Linked DNA regions of Homo sapiens: region 2 is linked to region 1. The links are contacts of gene promoters, found by promoter capture Hi-C in blood cells and fetal thymus (Javierre and others, 2016). All regions are on one chromosome and are shown on one strand. Each heading gives the region's core, a stretch centred on a gene start or on the middle of the fragment in contact. The rest is flanking DNA. Distances are from core to core; before and after follow the strand shown. Region 1 holds the start of IFT56 (intraflagellar transport 56). Region 2 overlaps KIAA1549.

Region 1 (6,278 bases), core at 2,054-4,553:
GAGTTCATGTCCTTTGTAGGGACATGGATGAATCTGGAAACCAGCATTATCAGCAAACTATCGCAAGGACAAAAAACCAAACACTGCATGTTCTCACTCATAGGTGGGAACTGAACACTATGACACAGTGAGAACGCTATGACACAATGAGAACACTTGGACACAGGAAGGGGAACATCACACACTGGGGCCTGTCATGGGGTGGGGGGAGGGGGGAGGGATAGCATTAGGAGATATACCTAATGTAAATGATGAGTTAATGGGTGCAGCACACCAACATGGCGCATGTATATATATGTAACAAACCTGCACGTTGTGCACATGTACCCTAGAACTTAAAGTATAAAGAAAAAAAAAAAGATTAGACAGACAAGGCCCATTATAGAAATCTCTTAGAAGACTTTCATAAATGCTCAGGACTGTAGGCAGACACACAAAACTGCAAAGGCATTGCTTCAAGCCACTCCTCACTGTTTCTAAGAGTAGTTGACTGTAGTAAAATACAACAAGGTCAACAAAATCCAGATGAGTCAGTAATATCATATTTTGAGAGGTGTGAGTAAACTTAAACAATATTCGGGTTTATCTGAAGAAAGCTAAGCTAATAATCAAAATGATATTCTTCTCAACTCCAGTTTTATAAATAGGTTAGATGAAGAATTAGCACTAATAATGAAAAGACAAAACCCTCGCTGGGCCACTTCTCAAAATCATAATTTGGTCAGTCTTGCTGCCCAGTTGTCTCATAACTGAAGACAAATCTGAGAAGGAGGCCAAACAAAAGAGCAAGGCTAATAAAATTATGATTTTACAGTCGAAACAAATGTCCACACAATTTGGACCTTCAAGATATCCTTATAAATCCGCAAATAGACTTAACCATACACTTTCAATTAATGCAAAAAGCCTGATCACATTAAAACGAACTGCCAAAAACTAAAAAGGAAAGAACAACAGGTGGAGTCAGATAATAAAGAATGGGGGTGCTCCATGGAACTTAAAGGGGCCTTTCCTTTTCTCCTTACACTCTGAGAGAAAAGAAATTGTTTAAAACTCCCCTTACTGTTTTCATCCCTCATTCTGTGGAAGCATTGCTAAACTTGAACCACACTCAACGTTATTCAATGAGTAGACTAACTTCATAGAAAGTTTCACTTCTTTTAGCTTCTCATGTCACCATCTCTAGATGTAACAAGCTAAATATTGCAACTCTTCTTCCTTCACTTTCAGATGAAACACCACACAATTGCATAACTCTAACTGATAAACTTGTTTTCTCCTAGGACTGATCTGCAAGAGACTTTTCTTACTTAGGCTAATGTTGTTTGGTTTACAGACGCATGTTATTTAAAGGATGAATCTGGAACTTACTGTAAAGGTTTACGCAATAGTGTCTTTAACAGAAGAAATAGAAAGTGCTTACCTTCCAGAAGCCACTTAGATTCACTTCTGTCTTTGTACCACAACTGTGTATTGAAGATGTCATTTGCCATGTACAGGCCCTAACCAATTACACACAAAAGGCCCTAAATAACAGCCACATGAATGTCTCATTATTAAATAATGAAGTTACTGTCATGAGAAGACTGTATTACAAAACTGTATGGTCTTAGACATACTCACTGCAGCCCAAGGAGGAATCTGTGCTATGACAGAAACTGAATGCTGTGTTTATATCCCAGATGAATCAAATAACGTCACCAAATTAATAACTGATTTGAAAAACTCTAATAATTAACCTTTCGGATCCAAAACCCTCTCTAAGCTACTGGTTAAGTAATTGATTTGGATCTTGGGGAACTTGGTGGCAAAAGCTGTTATGTATTTTAGGAATTATCATAGTTTGTGTTTTGTCTTGCCTTTGTCTGCAGAGCTGTTATGGTATTTATCTGCAATTGGGTCAACACACAGCTGAGAAAATGTGTAGAACAAAGACTACTCAGAGAATTGTTTGATTGAAGAGGCAGCCGTGTAGCCTGAATCAGGTTCCAGAACTACTTTCTCTTGTTGCTTTATAATTCGGACTTGGTCCTTTCCAATTTCCCCTCCTCCCTGGGATGTGACTGCCAGGAAGGGGCCTTCCTAGTGACATGAGGTTTGATCAAATACACGGCCTGAGAATATAATTCTTCTATAATGCTTTCTCTGAAAGCTTTTGAAGAAAAGGGGAAAATGTGAAAAGAAAATTTCAGCACTTTCCAAACGTACTATGCCAAGGGGAAAAGTTAAGCCCTGTAAACTAAATCACAGAACATGGCTGTTTTTCTTCTCTGGTGCATGACTGTTGCTTCCTGATCTTTGTGTTGATGTTATATATTAACCAGATTTTTTATTCTTTATTCAGACTAAATGACGTTGGAGATAGAGACCCTTGTGATTGTTACCTCTTTACAATAGAATATTAAACAACCCCCTTACAGTGTAATCAATAGTAGTGAATTGAATCTTCTGTGTACGTTAGCCTCATCTAGAAAATGCTGTAATTACGTACAGCACTCCTGTTTTTGGTGATATAAATGACCCTCACCTTTCCCTGCATCAGGGAGCACTGATCACCATTCTTTGCTGTCAGTGGTTCCCGGGATAGCCGCCCTCACACTTTGCACTTGAATAAACTCTTTCAACTGGATCCCTGAGCTTTTTGGTTATTTTAGGCTGACATTAGTTAACTAACAAGATGTTAGTTCTTCAGTCTGTTAATTCTGAGGGGTTGACCAGAGGTCCTGTAAGGTCCCTTCCAACTCTAACATTCCACGATTTCGTGAATTTAAAGACTGTGGTTGCCCCTGTATTAACTGGGTTCAGGAGTAAGATAGATAAATTAAGTCATCCAATCGACAAATATTTATTACAGTTCTCTATTGTGTGTAGGTGTATCTGTGGAAATAGGAAACTGTATTTTGGTGCACTCCTGCTTCCAAATCACAGAACTACAACTCCTTCAGCAGAAATTTTCTAAGCTTCCCGCACCAGCCAGAGACCAAGATTCTGCGGTGCACATAGTCAAGGGTTGCTATGGAGTCCAACACGGCCCCAAACAGAAGTGGTCCCTGAAAATTTCTTTCCCAGAAAACTTGCATTTGAAAAACAATGCCATTCCAATTCGCCTTTTCCTAAAGTAAACTCATAAATAGAGACAACCAAACTTTCGCTCTCAGCCCAGAGAACGACGCTCTCCTCCCAAGAGGAACCTCGGCTCTTCCGCGGCAGAAGCTGCACGGAACCAAGAAGCCGCGGGCGCTGGTTCTCCAACGAGCTTTTCTCCCGTTCGTACCAGCGTCCAGGCGGGGTTACCGTGGAGACAGAACGTGCTGTGTGGATGCGGCGAAACGCTGAGGCGCGGCCTTCGCTGTGTGGTGGGGACTCACAAGACCGACGTCAAGATGGTTAGTGGCTCTGAATAGTAAGGGAGTACTTTGAGTAGGTCCTGAGGCTGGCGATTAGAGGTTCCCAGCACACTTCTGTGTGAAGTCTAGGTGTGTCCGCAGAGAGTAATCCCCAGCTCTCCCTGTGTTCCCACGGGGGACAGGGATGCAACTGTAAATACCTCGGTGCTTTCTTCCCTCCTGCTTTTCCGTTTACTCACATTTAAACCACTCGTGGGATGGGAAGCAGAGGAAGGGAAAGCTGAGATGACAGAAGCAATGCGAAAGCATCTCTAGCCAGAGAAGATAAAAGTTGGGAGTAGCTGTTTGGTCCTTCCTAAGTATTGGCTGATGGCTCTTCTAGTAGAATACCTGTTACAAAACGAGTTTGAATAGGCTTCCCTGGGGTTCGTTGTTAAGGATTTGACTTATAATTTTTTTTTTTTTTTTGAGATGGAGGCTCGCTTTGTCGCCCAGGTTGGAGTGCAGTGGCGCGATCTTGGCTCACTGCAACCTCTGCCTCTAGGTTCAAGCGTTTCTTCTGCCTCAGCCTCCCGAGTAGCTGGGACTACAGGCGCATGCCACCACGCCCGGCTAATTTTTGTATTTTTAGTAGAGATGCGGTGTCACCATATTGACCAGGCTGGTCTCCAACTCCTGACCTCGTGATCCGCCGCCTTCGCCTCTCAAAGTGCTGGGATTACAGGCATGAGCCACTGTGCCCGGCCTTGACTTATAAATTACAGAGCTGTCACTCTCAGTTTAAATCTGATAATCAGAATTGGACCATACAGCTGTCTTTGTTTCTTTTACAGATGCTTTCAAGGGCCAAACCTGCTGTAGGCAGAGGCGTACAGCACACTGACAAAAGAAAGAAGAAAGGTAGGAAGATTCCAAAACTAGAGGAGCTACTTTCAAAAAGAGATTTCACTGGAGCTATTACCCTGTTGGAGGTAATGCCCAAAGAACGTTGCTTCTTAGTGTATGAATACCAGACTGTAGATGAATGCTTGGGTGAATGCTGTTTGCTATGCTCTTGAAATAGGTGGGTGCATTCTGGGGCTTCCTGTACAAATCCCCTGTAAATCTAGTCAGGCACAGATTCCAGATTCCAAGTTAGCTATAAACCTGATAAAAAACGAACTAAAAAACTAAACTTGGCCGGGCGCGGTGGCTCATGCCTGTAATTCCAGCACTTCGGGAGGCCGAGACGGGCAGATCACAAGGTCAAGAGATCGAGACCATCCTGGCCAACATGGTGAAACCCCGTCTCTATTGAAAATACAAAAATTAGCTGGGCATGGTGGCACGTGTCTGTAGTCCCAGCTACTCGGGAGGCTGAGGCTGGAGAATCGCTTGAACCCGGGAGGCGGAGGTTGCAGTGAGCCAAGATCATGCCACTGCACTCCAGCCTGGCTACAAGGCGAGACTCCGTCTCAAAAAAAAAAAAAAAAAAAAACAAAACAAAACTTATTTCTTGAGGGCCACTTTTGAGTATGTCTAGTTCACCAACAGTGATTACAATCTAAAAATATGAAGGGACCTTTTATACAATGTCATTTCACACATTGCTTATCCCAACCCTTGACCAATGTATGATTTTTTCCTATTATGTGTTCTAAAATTTTGATCAAACTTAAATAATTCTAACATGCTTACGGTTGAAAATATAGCCCCAGAAAATATTTCAAATCTCCATGGCAGTAGTTCTCACCTTTTAATATACATTGGAATTACCTAGGGTACTTAATAAGATATCGATTCCTGGGCTCCTGCTGTAAGTCTGCAGAGGTGCTCAGGAATCTGCATTTTAAGGTGAGTAGTCTAAGTGCTTCTGATGGAGATGGTCCCAGGAGACTGTGCTTTAAAAAACTGCTTTGTGGGAAACACATGTTATAGGAGGGTGAAGGGTTGCACCAAAGAATGAAGAGTTCTGACAGCATGGTCTGGTTGTGTTGTACCACACTCATTTCTCTTAAAATGCTACTCTGTCCATATTACTCTGAATCTACCCTTAATAATTGTTATAATTAGGTTTACATATATTTCTCCATCTTCCACAAATAGTTCACTTTCTTTTTTTTTTCTTTTTTCTTTTTTTGAGTTGGAGTTTCACTCTTGTCACCCAGGCTAGAGTGCAATGGCGCAATCTCAGCTCACTGCAACCTGCACCTCCCTGGTTCAAGCAATTCTCCTGCCTCAGCCTCCTGAGTAGCTGGGATTAGAAGTGCCTGCCACCATACCTGGCTAATATTTTGTATTTTTAGTAGAGATGGGGTTTCACCATGTTGGCCAGGCTGGTCTCCAACTCCTGGCCTCAGGTGATCCACCTGCCTCGGCCTCCCAAAGTGCTGGGATTACAGGTGTGGGCCACCGCGCCCGGCCTAGTTTGCCTTCTTACTAAGTACTCTGGTGTTGAGCGTGTTTTTTAGCTTTTTGGGCATCAGCTTTCTCATCTTTACAGTGGGGGAGTTGGCATGGAAGAACCTTCTAGTTCTGTGAATCAGTGGACTGAGTGCTATGTATATATCTATTTTCATCAGTCTGTTTTCCTCTTTTTTCTCTAAGACAATGACCACATTTTCCTTGTTGCATAACACCAGGTTGCCTTTATTTTATTTTATTTTTGAGACAGGGTCTCATTCTGTCACCCAGCCTGGAATGCAGTGGCGTGATGGTGGCTCACTGCAGCCTCAACCTCCCAGGGCTCACACGAGTCTCCCACCTCAGCCTCCCAAGTAGCTGAGACTACAGGCACGTGCCACTATACCTGGCTAATTTTCGTTTGATTGGCTATTTGTGTGTGTGTGTGGAGACAGGGGTCTCACCATGTTGCCCAGGCTGGTCTTGAACTCCTGGGCTCAAGGGATCCTCCTGCTTCTGGCCTCCCAAAATGCTGGGATTACAGGGCCA
Region 2 (6,278 bases), core at 2,494-4,993, 230 kb before region 1:
TGGCGGCCAGAAGTCCCAGGAACTCAGCACTGCAGGAGCTTTGGCGCAAAGGGCGCCTACGCAAGATCAAACATTTTGTCTGCACTTATCTCAACACTTCTGGAATTGGTGTGAGTTCATTGTCTTGCCTTGAGACTTGGACTCACAAACTAACTTGAAAAAAGGAAGCCTGCCCATCTTTAGTTATCTATTTCAGACAAGATGATCTCAACAGACAATCACTTGCCAGTGTGGTCTGGGAGGAAGGAGCATGTGCTTTTCAACCAGAACTGGTTTAAGTTTTCTTTGAGATACAACCATGGGCAAGTTACTTAATTGCTATAGAAATTATCTGGAAAAGACCGCGGATGGCACCATGCAAAGCGATAGGACCTTGACGTGGGATGCTGTGTGTTCGGCAAGGAGAACTTGCAAGATGCAGGAACCCCGTGAATGGCAACTATCACTACCCCACATGCTCTCTCGTGCCCAGCTAGTTCCTGTGCTGCATGCACACTGGACAGCTGGTGAGTACGTAAGTACTGTTCAGACTTTTGTGCACTAGGTTAGAAAGGCCTTCAACTGCAATGCCATACCTCTAAATATCTGACCCACTCCCCTAAGACAAAAAAAAAAAAAAAAAAAGCTTCCCAGGTGCCAAGCCACCCTGCTTGTCCTTATTAAACTAAACAAATAACACTTTTAGAAAAAAAAAAATAAAACAAGAGAGAGATCCTTGCTTCTAAACCTCACCCTATTCTGGGTCAGAAGATTGTCAGTTCCTGTTAGACTCTGCCCTGAACTTGATGTATGAATTTTAAAGAAAGTCAGTCCTTTTTGTTCTATAACTCAGTGGGATATATTCCCACAGCCAAATTTGAATCCCTTTCCATTCATTCTTTGCCAAGAATGTAAGGTACATTTTGCCCTAAATTTAGGAAACAAGAAAGGCAGCATCATTCTCAATACGCCTGCATAGACTTCTTCTCCTTACAGTTCCCAAAATATTACATAAGTTAAACATACCTGTTCTGACCCAAGAGGACTTCAGCAACTGAGATAAGTTGAGCTGTGGATACTGGAAGGCTACAAAAGGGAAAGAATTAGGGAAGGAGAAAAATATCTGTAAAAACAAAGCCATGTTTACAACAAAGTCCCAACACATCGTCTTTACTATTTAGCTCTAAATGTGAAAGAACAAAATGTCAGATTAGCGTGAGGACGTGGACAGTAGCCATTTCTGAACACATTAGTCTCAAGGAAAAAGAGAGAGATAAAAAGAAAAGAAGGGCCGCTCCAGCTATGTCACAGGACACTGCTTCACAGAGAGGTCACCGGCAAGTTCTCCTTTGAATGTCACTGTTCCACAGCAATCCATGTTCACACCGTGCCCCTCAGAGCCCTGGCTTTCCCAGCAAGGTCTCAGGGTAAAGTGACCACATGCGTTGACCTGCCCAGGACCAGCCAGTGTGCCCCGCCGTCCGGCATCCTCATTTTAGCCATACACACACTGAGCACAACTGAAAGCGGCTCTTTGTAAATAACAGCTTTATCTCTGTCTACTTTCATATAGAATAACTTCTGTAAAGTTATTCTTTTTAGTTTAATTAACAATACACTAAAATACACTACGAATCATTAGGCCATTTGGTTGTTTCATTTTGAAAAAGAATTGGAATTTTTTGGCCTGATTTCAACTCTGGAATCTACTATTTTTTTTTTTTAAATAAACGTCTCCCCTTTCCCCCACTGCCTCCATTGGCATTGTGAAGCTAGTTGCTTCAGTCAGGAAGAAAGGTTTCATGTTTTCACTTATTGTTTTTATTTTAAAATTTACACAGTAAATGTCACTCTTTTCAGTATACAGTTTTATGGGTTTTGATAAATGTGTATATATTCACATAATCATCACCACAATGAAGATATAGAACAGTTTCACAACCCCCAAAACACTGCCTTCTGCTACCCTTTTGTAGTCAAACTTTCCTGCGGCCCTTAAGCTCTGACAACCACAGATTCGTCCTCCCTAAATTATGCCTTTTCCAGAATTCGTGTACTTTTTGATAGCACCCCTTTACTCTCCAAATAATAAAGTCAGGCACGGTGGGTGAGCAGGGCTCTGCAGACCCATCTGGCCTGAATCCAGTTTTATCAGATTTATATTCTGGCACTCAAATCAGATATTTCATTTGAAAAAAGTGGTCCAGGTGAAAATACTCTGTATGATACTAAAATGGAGAATCCATGCCATTTGCATGTCATTACACATTTGTTCAAACCCACAGAATGCACGACACCCAGGGTGAACCTTAATGTAAACTATGGGCTATGGATGATGATGCAGGTTCAACCAATGATGCAGGATCAACCAATGCAGGTTGATCACTGTAACAAATGGGCCACTGTGCTGGGGGATGCTGATAATGGAGGTTATGAATGTGCGGAAGCAGGAGGTATATGGGAAATCTGTGAACTCTCCGATCATATCTGCTGTGAATCCAAAAACTTCACTAAAAAAACTCAAGTCTTTTACTATTATTCTAAGTGAAATAATTCAGGAATGGAAAACCAAACATCGTATGTTCTCACTGATATGTGGGAGCTAAGCTATGAGGACACAAAGGCATAAGAATGATACAATGGACTTTGGAGACTTGGGGGGAAGAGTGGCGGGAGGAGGGATAAAAGACTACAAATGTGGAGCAGTGTATACTGCTCGGGTGATGGGTGCACCAGGATCTCAAAAATCACCACTAAATAACTTACTCGTGCAACCAAATACCACCTGTACCCCAACGCCTTATGGAAAAATAATTTTTAAAAAATCAAGTCTTTTAAAAAACTAAAAAAATTTTAAGAAGAGGTCTTCCACCAAAAATGCCCGCCATCACCTCCCCAGCATGTCCAAGAGGGCTGTACTCACGCTCTGCGATCTGCAGCACTGGGTATCCCAGATAGAAACTGAACTCCACCACACTCAAGTTTCTGAGCAGCTCGCTCACTTCCGACCCATTCAAAAATCCCTGTGTGCTTTTAACCGCAAAGATGATATTCACCGGGCCCCGCCGAGGAGTCACCCTTGAGGAACTGATGGTGATATTCAAGATCTGAAAGAATAAAGTCAGAATAAGCTTCTATAATAAAACATTCTGCTGAAAGCTTAACCATGATTTCTCTCTCACAGGTCCTCTCACCGATTTTTTTAAAGGAGGTAAAGTTTTTAAAGGAAACGTAACTGGCTTTCTAACCTGGTTCCCTTTTGTAAGAGTTTAACTGCTCAGTTTATGGAAAATGTTTCTTACATTAAGTGATGAACTGAGCACATGTACAGCTCCTCCCACCCCAAATGCCACTGAAATAACAATAAGCTGAACACAGGGGAATAAATCCACAACAGCACTGAGAATGGAAGAAAACTAGAGATTCCGTCAAACCTCTGGGGGATGAAGAAAGGATGGGATTGGATTGATATAAACCAGAACAGAGAAAGCCAGAATCCAAAACATACACAAGCATGGGCTGCAGCAGAGCCAAGGGCCACGCTCTCCAAGAGGACCAGGAGGGGCTCTGTGGCAGAGATCAGCAGGAATGAGACCAAGAGCAGGCTACACAGTGGTAATCAGTATAATTAATTACAAGGCTGTGCCAAAGAGCTGAGTGTATTGCCTTCCTCCTCCGTCCTTCCTAACTGCCACACCCAGGCCAACAGAGGTGCTAGCAGCAGCCAGGCCCTCACCCAGAACAAGACTGCCTCCTGAGGAAAACAAACTCCTGCCTAAGAGGACTATGGTGGGTCTGGGCCCTAACCAAGAAGGTGGGCAGAGGCTAAGATAACTCCTGTGCACACCGAAGAAGGAAAGAAAATGAATGAAAACGCAGCTAGCTCTGCCCTGAGACACACACTAAAGTGCCCCATCCCCTAGGAAGAACCTCTTTATCTAGATGCTGGAAGGAGGGTGTTCCCTGTCTGCTTGTCTCTGACCACACACTGCACCCAGAGAGAAGCCCACGCTGACATATTCTGCCCCAGACCCAGCGCTCCGACGAATTTTCCCACCAGGAGATGGAGCTGACGTAGAAAGAGATCCCCACAGCTCAAGGGGAAAGCTGTGCCAGCTACTAAAATGAACAACTTGGTTCTTCATTCCTAACAACAAACCAACAGTCTCCAGATTTACAGAAACTAACAGCACGAAAGCAAAGCACCGAGATCAACATGCAGAGCAAGGACTGCAGAGAAAACAGGAATGACTTAGGAAACAGAAGACGCATTTTAACAATTCTAATTAACGTCCTCAGAGACTTTTAAGGTGACACTGCATCATCGCAGGAAAGCCTACAATGAAAATGGAGCAAAGAACAATGAACAAAAAGCTTAAAAATTCAGTAGAGGGATTGCATAACATAATGGACACAGCTAAGGACTAAATTCATGACTTGGAGGACGACATTTAGTAAATCTGTAAAAACAGAGAATAAAGAGATGGAAAATATGAGGAAAAAATAAGAAACATGGAAAGTGGATCCAGGAGCACCAAAATCTATTTTAACATCCATTTTGGAAAGAGAGAGGAAAGAATGTAGAGGGAAAAAAATCAAAGAAACATAAAAACATCAGCAGTTTCCATATGATACGTACAACACCCGTTCTTAGTAGCTATATGGAAACAACAGTATGGGTAGGCATTCCCCCATTGGATATTTAGGTTGATACCATTCCTTTCTAGGTAATTCTTGAATTTCCTGAATATGGTCATGTTTCTTCAGCTCACCATATCTGAGCTCCCTGGGTATCAGCTACTCTGCAACCCTCAAAGATGCTCAGCCTGTGCACGCTATGCCGACCTTACGCCACAGGAATAGATCAATCCCGACTCACATAAACTGGGTTTCCGCCACTGGAGGGAATAAGAGTTAAGCACATCTTAAACAATGTGGAACAATTTCCCCTTCAAGGGCTAAAGCCTTCTGCTCTGCATTCAGTGATATTCTCACCTGCACCGTGAGGTTATACGTTCCCTGGTGGTGTTTTCTCACTTCAAAGAGAGCTGTCATTAGGCCTTTCTCAATGCGCTGGGTGAAGTTGCAGAAGCCAGTATCCACACTCGGAGGCACAAACTGAAGTACTGAAAAGAAAAGCAATCAAAGTCCCATAAATGAGGTGTTTGTGCTTCTGAAGTATTAAGGAATCAAGAGAGAGAAACATCGTATCTAAATCAACCAATTCATCCATAGTATGGGATTAAGTACTGTGATGTAACATTTCTACGTATTTTCTCACGGAAATGTAAAAGGTAACTTTGCAGTAAATGAAGACATGCAATGTGACGGTGACTGGTATCATTTTAAAATGAAAAATATCTAAGATAAGAATTTGAGTATCAAAAGACACAATGGATGGAAACATTTCAAACATATATAAATTCATTGTAGATGAATTCTTGAATATTTATGGGTGAAATGACATGATACCTGGCATTGCTTGAAAACACTCTAGTGTCCACAAAAACGTTCACAGGGGATAGATGAAACAAAATTGGTGATGTTGATAAATTTTTTTTAAGCTTAACCATGGGTATATGTAGACTTAGTACTCTCTCTACTTTTGTAAATGTTTGAACATGTCCACAATGAAAAGTTAAATATGATATTTAGAAATTACTGTTAACAGCCAGGTACAGCGGCTCACGCCTGTAATTCCAGCACTTTGGGAGGCTGAGGCGGGCAGATCATTTGAGATCAGGAGTTCGAAACCAGCCTGGCCAACATGGTGAAACCCCATCTCTACTAAAAATACAAAAATTAGCCGGACATGGTGGTGGGTGCTTGTAATCCCAGCCACTCAGGAGGCTCAGGCAAGAGAATTGCCTGAGCCCGGGAGGCAAAGGTTGCAGTGAGCAGAGATCGCGCCATTGCACTCTAGCCTGAGCAACAAAGCAAGACTCCAGCTCCAAAAAAAAGAAAAGAAAAGAAATCACTGTTAACTTCATATACATGTTTAAAGTCTTTATCTTTTAGAGGCTATATAGGCTGAAATATGTGTGGGCGAGATGATACGATGCCTGAGATTTACTTTAAAATAGTACAAGAGGAGGGGAAGTAGATAGTAGATGGGGGTGTGGCTATAACAAGACTGGCTAGGAACGGAAAAGTGGTTGAAGACATATGAGTACACAGTGGTCTGTTAAACTATTCTACGTACTTTTGTACATGCTTGAAATTTCCCATAATTATAAACACTTTTAAAAGTTAAATAATAAGGTCAGGTGTGGTAGCTCACACCCGTAATCCCAGCACTT

Evidence for each region. The method cuts DNA at HindIII sites, captures the fragments that hold promoters and counts their contacts. A CHiCAGO score of 5 or more calls a contact.
Region 2: a fragment that was not itself captured here is called in contact with the fragment with the promoter of IFT56 in region 1 in 1 of 17 cell types (naive CD4 T cells); the score reaches 5.4 in naive CD4 T cells.

The regions. Positions count from the first base shown.
Region 1 is chr7:139,130,475-139,136,752 of GRCh38, forward strand. It overlaps IFT56 (intraflagellar transport 56), which reads left to right and starts at 3,304. Exons shown (of 18, transcript NM_024926.4): 1 at 3,304-3,386; 2 at 4,181-4,318. The coding sequence starts at 3,384. RefSeq lists enhancers at 3,129-3,423, 3,141-3,320. The HindIII fragment of the contact is 9,761 bases long and covers 2,959-6,278 here.
Region 2 is chr7:138,904,017-138,910,294 of GRCh38, forward strand. KIAA1549 reads right to left here. Exons shown (of 20, transcript NM_001164665.2): 5 at 4,975-5,105; 6 at 2,903-3,086; 7 at 1,006-1,065. Among named protein-coding and RNA genes, the nearest start is that of KIAA1549, 74 kb to the right of the region's middle. The HindIII fragment of the contact is 1,215 bases long and covers 3,137-4,351 here.